Linked DNA regions of Homo sapiens: region 2 is linked to region 1. Evidence: promoter capture Hi-C in 16 types of primary human blood cells and fetal thymus (Javierre and others, 2016). All regions are on one chromosome and are shown on one strand. Each heading gives the region's core, a stretch centred on a gene start or on the middle of the fragment in contact. The rest is flanking DNA. Distances are from core to core; before and after follow the strand shown. Region 1 holds the start of SELENOT (selenoprotein T). Region 2 holds the start of MBNL1 (muscleblind like splicing regulator 1).

Region 1 (5,452 bases), core at 1,725-4,224:
AGGTAAATGTGCAGGAGAGTGCAAGAGTGAAAGAGCAACAGATAGAAATCGAAGCCTTAAGCCCTTTCATAATTGGCATTAATCCATTCATGAGGGTGGAGCCCTCCCATTAGGCCCCATCTCCCAACACTGTTACATTGGGCATTAAGTTTCCAACATATGCTTTTTGGGGGACATATTCAAACCATAGCATCCCTCTTGCTGCAATTAATGATAAACAAAATTTTTCAATTACTGGTGTGTTCCTGGTCTTAAAAGTCTTTGACTTGTCCTAAAAGACACATCAACCAATGACAATGTATAAATTTCATTTTGATTCTGATTTTAACAAATGAACAGTAGGAAAATAAGTAGTTATTGAGACCACAGGATATTTGAACACTGACTAATATTACGCAATTACTATTTTTTAAAGGTGAGACAATGATACTGTGTGTCAGGCCTCTGAGCAAGGCCGTACTTCCAAAGGAAGTGGAGTCTCACTGCAACAGCCATCACAAGGCATCAGATCTCACTGCTCAAGGCAACGCTTATGCTGATAAGGTAGCTAAAAAGCAGCTAGCATTCTAACTTCTATCCTTCATGGCAGTTTTTCTCCTTCTCATCTGGTCACTCCCACCTACTCCCCCACTGAAACTTCCGCCTATCAATCTCTTCCCACACAAGGCAAATGGTTCTTGGACCAAGGAAAATATCTCCTTCCAGCCTCACAGGCCCATTCTATTCTGTCGTCATTTCATAACCACTTCCATGTAGGTTACAAGCTGCTAACCCGTCTCTTAGAACCTCTCATTTCCTTTCCATCGTGGAAATCTATCCTCAAGGAAATCACTTCTCAATGTTCCATCTGCTATTCTACTACCCTGCAGGGATTGTTCAGGCCCCCTCCCTTCCCTACACATCAAGCTCGGGGATTTGCCCCGCCGAGGACTGGCAAATTGACTTTACTCACATGCTTCAAGTCAGGAAACTAAAATACCTCTTGGTTTGGGTAGACATTTCACTGGGTGGGTAGAGGCCTTTCCCACAGGGTCTAAGAAGGCCACCGCGGTCATTTCTTCCCTTCTGTCAGACATAATTCCTCAGTTTGGCCTTCCCACCTCCTCTCTTTCCTTGAAAATCACTGAAGCCTCGACTTACTCACTGCTGAAAAAGGAGGACTTTGTATATTTTTAAATGAAGAGTGTTGTTTTTACCTAAATCAATCTGGCCTGGTATATGACAACATAAAAAAACTTAAGGATAGAGATAGAGCCCAAAAACTCTCCAACCAAGCAGACAACAACGTTGAACCCCCTTGGACACTCTCTAATTGGATGTCCTGGGTACTCCCAATTCTTAGTCCTTTAATACCTATTTTTCTCCTTCTTTTATTCGGACCTTGTGTCTTTCATTTAGTTTCTCAATTCATACAAAACTGCATCCAGGCCATCTCCAATAATTCTATACGACAAATGCTCCTTCTAACAACCCCACAATATCACCCCTTACCCCCAAATCTTTCTTCAGTTGAATCTCTCCCACTGTGGGTTCCCACGCCGCCCCTAATCTCGCTCGAAGCAGCCCTGAGAAACATCGCCTATTATCTCTCCATACCACCCCCAAAAATTTTCGCTGCCCCAACACTTTACCACTATTTTGTTTTATTTTTCTTATTAATATAAGAAGACAGGAATGTCAGGCCTCTGAGCCTAAGCTAAGCCATCATATCCCCAGTGACCTGCACATATACATCCAGATGGCCTGAAGCAACTGAAGATCCACAGAAGTGAAAATAGCCTTAACTGATAACATTCCACCATTGTGATTTGTTTCTGCCCCACCCTAACTGATCAATGTACTTTGTTGATCAGTAATCTCCCCCACCCTTAAGAAGGTTCTTTGTAATTCTCCCCACCCTTGAGAATGTACTTTGTGAGATCCAACCCCTGCCCCCAAAATATTGCTCTTAACTCCACCGCCTATCCCAAAACCTATAAGAACCAATGATAATCCCACCACCCTTTGCTGACTCCCTTTTCGGACTCGGCCCGCTTGCACCCAGGTGAAATAAACAGCTGTGTTGCTCACACAAAGCCTGTTTGGTAGTCTCTTCACACGGACATGTGAAACACTGTGGTCAATTTTTTTTCTTTTTAATAATAATTCTTTTTTAGAAATATGTGCTTAAATAATTGTAAGCCAGGCATAGTTGCCTGTGCCTGTATTCCTAACCACTTGGGAAGCTGAGGCAGGACTGCTTGAGCCCAGGGGTGTGAGGCTGCAGTAAGCTATGATCACGCCACTGAACTCCAGCCTGGGTGACAGTGAGACCGTGTTTAAAAATATATATATACAGATGAAATGATATGATGTCTGAGATTTGCTTCCAAATATGCCTAGGAAGGGAAGAAGTGTTTAGAGATATAGACAAATCAAGATTGTCAAAATGTATAGTAACTGTTAAAGCTTGCTAAGGTAGTTATTCTATTTTTGGATATGTTTGGAATTGTCCAAAGGTTTCCTAAAACTTATGTTTAATATTCTTTCAGGAGAAAGCAATATTGTAAGATCAAAGAAAAGGCCATAACAGCGCACCCAAAAAATTTCAGCATTACCATTCTGAGGGTCAGGAGTCTCCTCCCTTCCATCCGCCAACACTTGAATCAGGACTATAAAGTAGGTGTTTCCAAGTCTCAGGCAGGTAAATGGATAAATTGCAAAACTGGATGCAGAACTCACATCTGCCTCATACATAGGCCCTGTGACACCCCACCAGCTCCTTTGCTCCCTTTCTGCCTTTCTCATGCCGTCCCAGAGTCTTGCACACTACCAAGATGGTGGTGAGTCAGGACAGTGAAACAGGTCGGCTCTTCACTCCAGGAGTGTGCGCGGGCGCCGGGCCGCGCAGGCGCATTACTGCTCCCCTCCCCCGACCTTGGCTGATCGCGCCTGCGCAGTGGGGAGCAGCTCGCTCCTGGGCTTTGGGCTGGCTGCAGTCTGTCTGAGGGCGGCCGAAGTGGCTGGCTCATTTAAGATGAGGCTTCTGCTGCTTCTCCTAGTGGCGGCGTCTGCGATGGTCCGGAGCGAGGCCTCGGCCAATCTGGGCGGCGTGCCCAGCAAGAGATTAAAGATGCAGTACGCCACGGGGCCGCTGCTCAAGTTCCAGATTTGGTGAGTATGTGCACTGGGCCCCGGCCACCCCGCCGCGCCTCTGCTCGGCGCCATTGGCTACGCGAGGCCCCGGCTTCGCGGCCTAAATGGCCGCATCTTCGCTGGCCTCGTAGAACTGTGCCGGCGCCCTTCCACAGCCAGCCTTCTCGCGGCCCCTTAGCGCGGTCAGGCCGCCCTCCTTTTCCAGGTATAACTGCTCACTTGTTTTTTGCCTCCTAGAACAGTGGGAATGGGGAAGGAGGGCGCGAGAAGGTTAAACGCTGAAAGGCGAAGACTGGGGGACACCTGTTAGTACGGAGGACTGGTTGGCGGCGTCACGCCATAGCCACCCCGGCTGCCTGCGGAGATGGGGATGAGTAGGCGCCGCGTCGGCGGAGGAGCGCCAACCGTTTGTCAGTTCACTTTTTCTGCCCTCTTTTCCGGGGTAATGCCGGGCGGCTTCGCTGCCTGGCTAGATGAAGGTTAATTCGGGTCATTGGAGAGGATCCGGGAGTGACAGACGCCGTTTTTCTCCTGAACTTGCTGGGGGGACTGTTGAGTTTGCGAATGGGGCGTCTGACAGCTGGAGGGGGTGGAAGGAAGGTCTGGGGATGCTGGTTCTGTTTGCCATTTCCAAAGTGTCAGAAAAGGAGCACGTTGTTCTTCTAAACATTGACAGTTCGCTCGCATTCCCTCCTCACCTGCCTCCCAGGAGTTGCCTGCTCTGGCATCTCTTTCTACCTTTCAGTTGTCTTGTGTATCCAGCAGATCTCGGCAGTTTTCGACAGTGTTCTTTAAATGATTTTGTTTTTAACCTAATCGTTAGAAGCAGGGCAATGATGCATTTTATACGGTAAGTGGGGTTGCGGGTGGGGATTGAAAGGCTCTGAAGATGGGGGAAAAAACACCAAAATTGTAAAATTATAGAAATGAGAATCTTACACCTCCAAAGATGACATTTTCTCAGGATAAACCGACCATCCCAGAATAGCCAGATTAGTAAATCATCAGAGTCCGGATACATTGGAATGTTGGTGTTGGACATCATTCATTTAAAACCTTCTTTTAAGAACTTCATGTATTAGTATATTAAAGTTTTGATTTTCTACTTCTCCAACTAGCTTTTTACTTACTCACTGAAGACCAAGCAAACCTTTAAAATAATTTTTAAAAATCGGCTTAAGGTGATGTTTGAGTTAGAAAATAAGATGGTGAGACTTTATTTTTTTGAGTGAAAACTAAAACATTGCAATTTCTCCTGATTAAAAACAAACAAGGCCGGGCTCGCTGGCTCACGCCTGTAATCCCAGCACTTTGGAGGCCGAGGCTAGCGGATCACCTGAGGTCGGGAGTTCGAGACCAGCCTGACCAACATGGAGAAACCCCCATCTCTACTAAAAATACAAAAATTAGCCTGGCGTGGTGGCGCATGCCTGTAATCCCAACTACTTGGGAGGCTGAGGCAGGAGAATCGCTTGAACCCGGGAAGCGGAGGTTGCGGTGAGCCGAGAACGCGCCATTGCACTCCAGCCTGGGCAACAAGAGCGAAACTCCGTCTCAAAAAAAAAAAAAAAAACCTCCCTGTACAATGTACTATGTTTCTGGAATATATCATCTTTCATGTAATACTGCAAATGGGAGAATGGTTTATCCATTAACTTTTTTCCTTAATTTTTAAATTAGAAGGTGGTAATCATCTTACTAACCTAAAGATTGTTAAGGGTTGTGATACTTACGGATTTAAGTGTTAAAAAATTGCAGTTTTCAAATTATTTAATTTTTCTGTATCCTACTTTTATCTCTTGGTTGTATTTTTGCTTTTCCAAAATACCCCTTTTACGTTTGCTTTTTTTGGAACACTTGTCACAATAATTTACCAGGTGTATCTTCCACCAAGGCTATTCATAGCAAGGTTTTCAAAATGTGTAAACAAACGTAGGGAAGGGCATTCAGTCCTTCAAATTAAACTTAAAAAAAAAGTAGTAAGTACTTCAGTTAAACTTTTGATACTTTGTTTTTCTTTGTTTTTAAGTACAGACCTGTCCCAAAAGTCTAATAATTTTCTTTTACAGTCACTCTGAGCATGTTATATAACAAAAATGCTTCCATTTAAAAAATTATTTTTATTTTTATTTTTCTGACACTATCCACCGGAGATCATTTTTTGTTTAATCTGTAGATGGGAAATAACGTTATTAATAAGACCCACCAAATACAGATCAACTTAGCTTGTTGTTTGTTGCTTTTCCCCCCAGAGATTAATCTGTTTATGGTAAAGTGAATATTGGGTTTCTGGTTTTGCTAGAATCTTGTGGACATT
Region 2 (5,452 bases), core at 2,005-4,504, 1.7 Mb after region 1:
TTGACAGGCGACCCTGTGGCCCGGGGAAGCGCGGGAGGGCGCCGGCGGAAAGTTGAAGAGCGTTTTTCTCGCCGCCGCGTGCATTAGGAGCTCGACGAGTCCGCCCTGGGCTTCCTGGTGGGGCTGGGCGGGCGGGGGAGGGGCCGCGCAGCAGCAGCGGAAGCCAGACCTCGGCGATAAGAGGCTGCACAGCGACATGCAACAGTCTTTTCACTGCAGCTGAATGAGTTGTGGCGCCCACAATGCTCCCATGACAAGGAGCTGACAAGTTCCATTTTCCGTCGCGGGCATCTTGGAATCATGACTCCCACAATGCCTTGGGCACTTGGTCGACAGTGGGGCCGCCTCTGAAAAAAAAATGTGAGAGGTAAGTTTCCATTTTCACAGTTTCCCCGCGCCGCTTCATTGTTCGGACTCCGGCGGGTCTGCCCGTGGCTGAAGGAGGAAGTGCGAGGAGGTGCTCGCCGGCCGCGGTTCTCCCGGGCAGGGGCGGGCCGCTCGCGGTAGTTGGTTTCGCGTCCCTCAGCACCTCCTGCCCGGGGGAAGGCGGGAGGGTGAGCCGCAGCCGCTCCTGCGCCCTTCCCTGCCGCGGGCTCTGCGGACGCTGTCACGGCACAGCCCGCGCACGGCTTGGCAGCCCAGCGGGACCCAGGGAGAAACAGGGGGGCGAGAAGAGAAACAGGTGCGTGCAAGTGTACTCACAACTTAATGACCTTTGTCGGGGGAAGGTGTGAGTCCCTCTGAGTCGAGCGGCGCGCGGGTCTTCCCGGCGGCTCCCGCATCCCTGGCCCCGGGGCTGCCATCCCGCCCGGTTTTCATCTGGGCCAAATATGTGCACGCAAAGGTTAATTCTCTGCTTGCTACCCATAAATTACGCATGACATGTTTAGCTGGGCTGCCTTATATGGAGAGTGCTGTATTTCAGGCCAGTTTGCCTTTTGCCAAGTTTACAGGGCGGAAGACGCCCTGTAGGAGAGGGCTGCCTCCTCCTTTTCTTCTTCTTCTTTTTTTTTTCATCGTTTTGTAGTGCGTCACTCAAAAACTGTAAGAAAAGTAAGTATAGAAGCTCTTTGGGTGGAGCCGCAGTTGGTTGAATTGCTTTCATGAAAGGTTGAAAAGAATGAAAAGTAGTTAGTACTTGGGTTCTGGTTTTTAGACAAAAGCAGGACAAATATGTAGCCACCCCCCAACTTTTTTTTTTTTTTTTAAACGGAGCCGGAATCTGTTATTGGTAGTAATGTGTCATGTGAGAATACTTTGATTCCAGAGCCTGTAACACGAGCAGGTATATGGTGGCGCTTATGCCTTCCCCTCGCACAGCACTTTACAACTACAGGGGTGTTGCTGCCAGAGTAATATTGTATTCTTAAGGCTCTCTGGGGCCGGGAGAGTATGCGGCTGTTGGGATTCTGGGGTGTATTTCCGTGGAGTATGTCTCCCCAGGATTAAAGTTAAGAAGCTGCCGGAAAGGTTGTTGCCGCTGACTTCACTTTGTGTGCCCACCAGCACAGGCACAAGTCATAGCAGATGGATGGCAAACTCTGCCATATACTCTGAGGAGTTTCTTAAATTAATACGCTAGGAGAGAAGTCATAATTAATGCTTTTAGACTTTCGAGCCCTCTGCAGCGTGCTTTGAAATACTACACCGGTGGACACTATGTCCCTTCCTCCTGGGTTTGAACACAGTGTCTGTTTATACACAGAGGGTGTTTAGTACCTAAGTATTCTATACCAGCACAAGAGAGCCACTCCACAGTTATCTCTCTGTGTGGATTCCTAAGTGTGTTGGTGTTTCTCCTTGCTGTTGAGATAAAATATTATCACCCAGAGAGAAAATGAAAGTTCAACGACTGTAAAATTTATCCCAGGAATGTGCAGTTCAATACTTAGAATGTCTTAGATGTAGTTATAGATAGAGGCACTGAATAAGTTATTTTGTAGCCTGAGAATGCACATCGCTGTCACTTGTATCTTGCTTTCTTAAAGTTGGTGACAACTAAGGCTAAACTTCTTTAGAAAACCTAATGTTCTAGTTTTTATCTGTTTTGTGTATTTGCATGGGAGTTACTTTATTATTATTATTATATTGTTAGGTCTTCTTTGAAAATGTAGGCATAGCTTTTTTAGTCTTATTTGTTTAATGGGGGGTTTCCTTGCTGAAGACTACAAAAGTTGCCTTTTGTGTTTTAAGGAACAGGTTGGGTCAGCAACAGAAAACCTGTTCATCTATAATTATAGTGTCACTTAAGACATAATAATCAGATTTCATTATTACTAAGAGACTCAGAAAAACCTCACATATGCCTAGTTTAATTTTTTTCCTTATGTAACTGTGAACAAATTTGTGTGTAGATACACATCAAGTGTGGTACTCTGCGCAGTCATGCCAAAGAGAAACTGAAGTGTTATATGGTTTGAGATATTATTGCTTGTGTTTACATTTCCACATTTGAGGCAAAGTTAGACTCCAAGTTGAATTCATTAAATTTTGATTCCAACATTCTGTTCTTCCTTTGGGCACAGAATTCCTATGAAATGAAACACTGGGTTTTGTTCCAGAACAAGAACAGACTAACCCAAAATTTCTCCTGGGGGAAAAAAAAAGAGTAAAATTATATTTCTCATTGAAAATTGTATTTCTCATTGAGGAAGGGTGTGTTACTTTATTATATAAAATGCCTTATCTTCATTATAAGAAAAAAATGCCCTTGCATTTGTCACTGTTGCCATACATTAGGCCTGTATTTGATAGATCTATATGGAAACAGAGAATAAATAATCTTGCTGCACCTTCTGGCTTTCTGCTTGGTGATAGATGTGCGGATTAGAGAACATCTCAGGTCTTGGTTAGGAGAAGCTGAAAAGAATAGGTGATTGGGTTTTTAAAATTCTGTATGCAAAGGCATTAGGGTGGGTAGTAGATATGAGAGTCAAAAGAGTGGAGGAAAGAAGTGAAATAGGTTCACGAAGTGATTGGCCCAAAATAAAATCCCATCAACCATATGGATCATAGAGAATGTGACATAGAAAGATTTTAAAGTGTATGGTTTTTTTAGGCCAAAAAGCTTCATATGTTTGGAAATCTAGAATGTGCTGTCCAGTACAGTAGCCACATGTGGCTGTTGAGCACTTGAAATGTGTCTTGTCCAGATTGAGAAGTGTAAAATACTACCGGTTTTGAAAACTTTATATGAGGGGAAGAAAGTAAAACATCTGATTAATATTTTTATATTTATGATATGTTTTAATGATAATTTTTGATATATTGGTTCTAATAGAAGATCTTACTAGATTAACTTCACCTGTTTCTTTTCTCTCTCTCTCTCTCTCTCTCTCTCTCTCTTTCATGGTGTCTAGAAAATATAACAAATGTGGCTAACATCGTATTTATTTTGGACAGTGTTGTTCTAGGATAAAGCAGGAAAACAATATTCTGGGAGAAAGCTTAAAGATTTTGCTGGTCAAAACAATAAAATTGGCTTATTTTATTATACATAGAAATACCTCGTCTTTCTTATCCATTGTAACCAAAATTTGAGAAAACACACCACCTAACATCTATTTTTATTTCCTCAAAGCTGCTATTTAGTTTAGAGATTTGATGGTGAGGTAGTAATAATAGAGAAAAACTTATAATTAGAGAATGAGTCTTAACACCTCTCAAAGGCCAAAATAGAGTATGATTGTTACTTAGGAACATTTTAGAGACACTGTAGTTATCATTGTCCTGAAGTTACCAAACATAAACGAGTCACTAAAATTATTTTAAAATAGAGATTTTAGTAAATAGCAATTATCTTCAAATACTTAATATGTGTTTTCTTTTGCTAGAACTTTCTTTAGAAAGTTAAAAAAAAAAACCCATATCCAAAGTCCTGAGCAAATGTTAATAAAAGATTGCTGCATTCATAAGAATGAAAGATTTTTACCTGCAGATAGGAGGGTATTGTTTTGAATATTAGCAAAGGTGAAAATGTGTTTCTAACGTAACATTATGGGCTCTGAAGAATTTCTATACATGGAGACACTGTCTTTATAATTTGAACACATTCTTGAGAAGGCATCTGACTGGTAAACAAAGCACAATGGCATAGGTCCTGGAAACATTCCTTTCAGATATTTTCATAACTGAAGTACATTTTGCCATTCACAGTGAGTGTTAAGCTGAAAAAAATGTGGTTCTTTTCTAGCCATATAAAGTATGCTTACTATTATTTTCTCGAAGGATGCCAAAAAATGTAAAATGGATGTTGTGGATTCTTCGTGGGGAGGTTAGCTAGTTTGTATATAGAGCCTCAAGAAGAGTTGCCTCAGCTTGGTGCCATCTTGAGTCTGTCTTCCACTAGATGAGGCATAGCTTCCATTAGTGTCAGTGCGTGTGTGGAGGGTGAGGGGAAGAATGATCCCCATTAACTTTGTATATTGTTTCTGATGAGTCATGGAGCATATTCACTAATGGTTGGAGAATTATTGATTGCAAGGCAGAGGATTCAAGAAGAGCTATTGGCATATGGCATTAACTGTCTCTAGACATATTTTTTATTTTTAAATTTGAGGTAGAGAAATCGGTTTTTACGTAGTGTTTTTCATATTATAAAAAATAAACGTTTATATAAGCATTACAGATACATCCTTGAGGAAAAAAATAGTAAATACATGGTTATAGTTTTCTACATATTACCAGTTTTTTTCATAACAGATCCAGAACATCTCTTTCAGATAATCGTTCATGTTTTTAGAGAGGCATCTCATCATATGTGCCTGTGAAATCTGTAAAAATATGTGTAACACACATCTTGAAATATTTGTGTTAGGAGAATTAAGTCTTACACATTTGGTTCTTTTTCTACTGTTTTTGATTATGTTCTCTAGGTTACTATGATTATCTTTTGTTAAAACAGTTCAGGAAATATTAATCTCAAAACGAAATGTAGCCATATTGGACAGAGTAGAGAATTGCTTTTCCACAGAGACCAGTTATTCCAAAAAGGTGAAGATGTTTCTGAAATAATATCATGCTCATATGCTCCAAAAGAAAAACCATCATCTCTTTTGACATTCTTTTAGGAAACTGAGAGATGTATGTTTTATATACCAAAAGAGGTGAATAATAGTTGATAAAGGTATGCAAAATACATACTCCTGTGAAGTGTGAACATACAATTTGTATGTAACGCATGCATGAGCATATAACTTTCCCCAAGACAATGCCAATTTATTCAAATCACCTGAATGTTAAATAATATCATACTATTAAGAAGAATTGTGGTAAATATGAAATCTAAATACCAGTGATGATGTCCATGCTGATGTCAACTCCATTCCAGTCCTGCTTTAGCTAAATTCACAAAATGAAGAGATGTCTTTCTCCAAAGTAGTTTTCCAAAAATTTGTATTTGACACTGGATTTTTTCCTACGTTTTCACTTTTAAAAGTTTAGAAGCTATTAA

What was found. The method cuts DNA at HindIII sites, captures the fragments that hold promoters and counts their contacts. A CHiCAGO score of 5 or more calls a contact.
Region 2: a fragment that was not itself captured here is called in contact with the fragment with the promoter of SELENOT in region 1 in 1 of 17 cell types (fetal thymus); the score reaches 6.7 in fetal thymus.

What each region holds. Positions count from the first base shown.
Region 1 is chr3:150,600,347-150,605,798 of GRCh38, forward strand. SELENOT (selenoprotein T) reads left to right here and starts at 2,975. Exons shown (of 6, transcript NM_016275.5): 1 at 2,975-3,153. The coding sequence starts at 3,017. LOC124900547 (a long non-coding RNA gene) reads right to left here and starts at 2,837. Exons shown (of 2, transcript XR_007096128.1): 1 at 2,598-2,837. RefSeq lists enhancers at 2,764-2,843, 2,964-3,113, 3,086-3,859, 3,134-3,433. The HindIII fragment of the contact is 3,294 bases long and covers 2,447-5,452 here.
Region 2 is chr3:152,268,726-152,274,177 of GRCh38, forward strand. MBNL1 (muscleblind like splicing regulator 1) reads left to right here and starts at 204. Exons shown (of 10, transcript NM_021038.5): 1 at 204-367. It overlaps MBNL1-AS1 (MBNL1 antisense RNA 1), which reads right to left and starts at 901. Exons shown (of 2, transcript NR_027038.1): 1 at 703-901; 2 at 1-347. RefSeq lists enhancers at 1-249, 250-1,091 and silencers at 1-41, 92-141, 542-651. The HindIII fragment of the contact is 379 bases long and covers 3,066-3,444 here.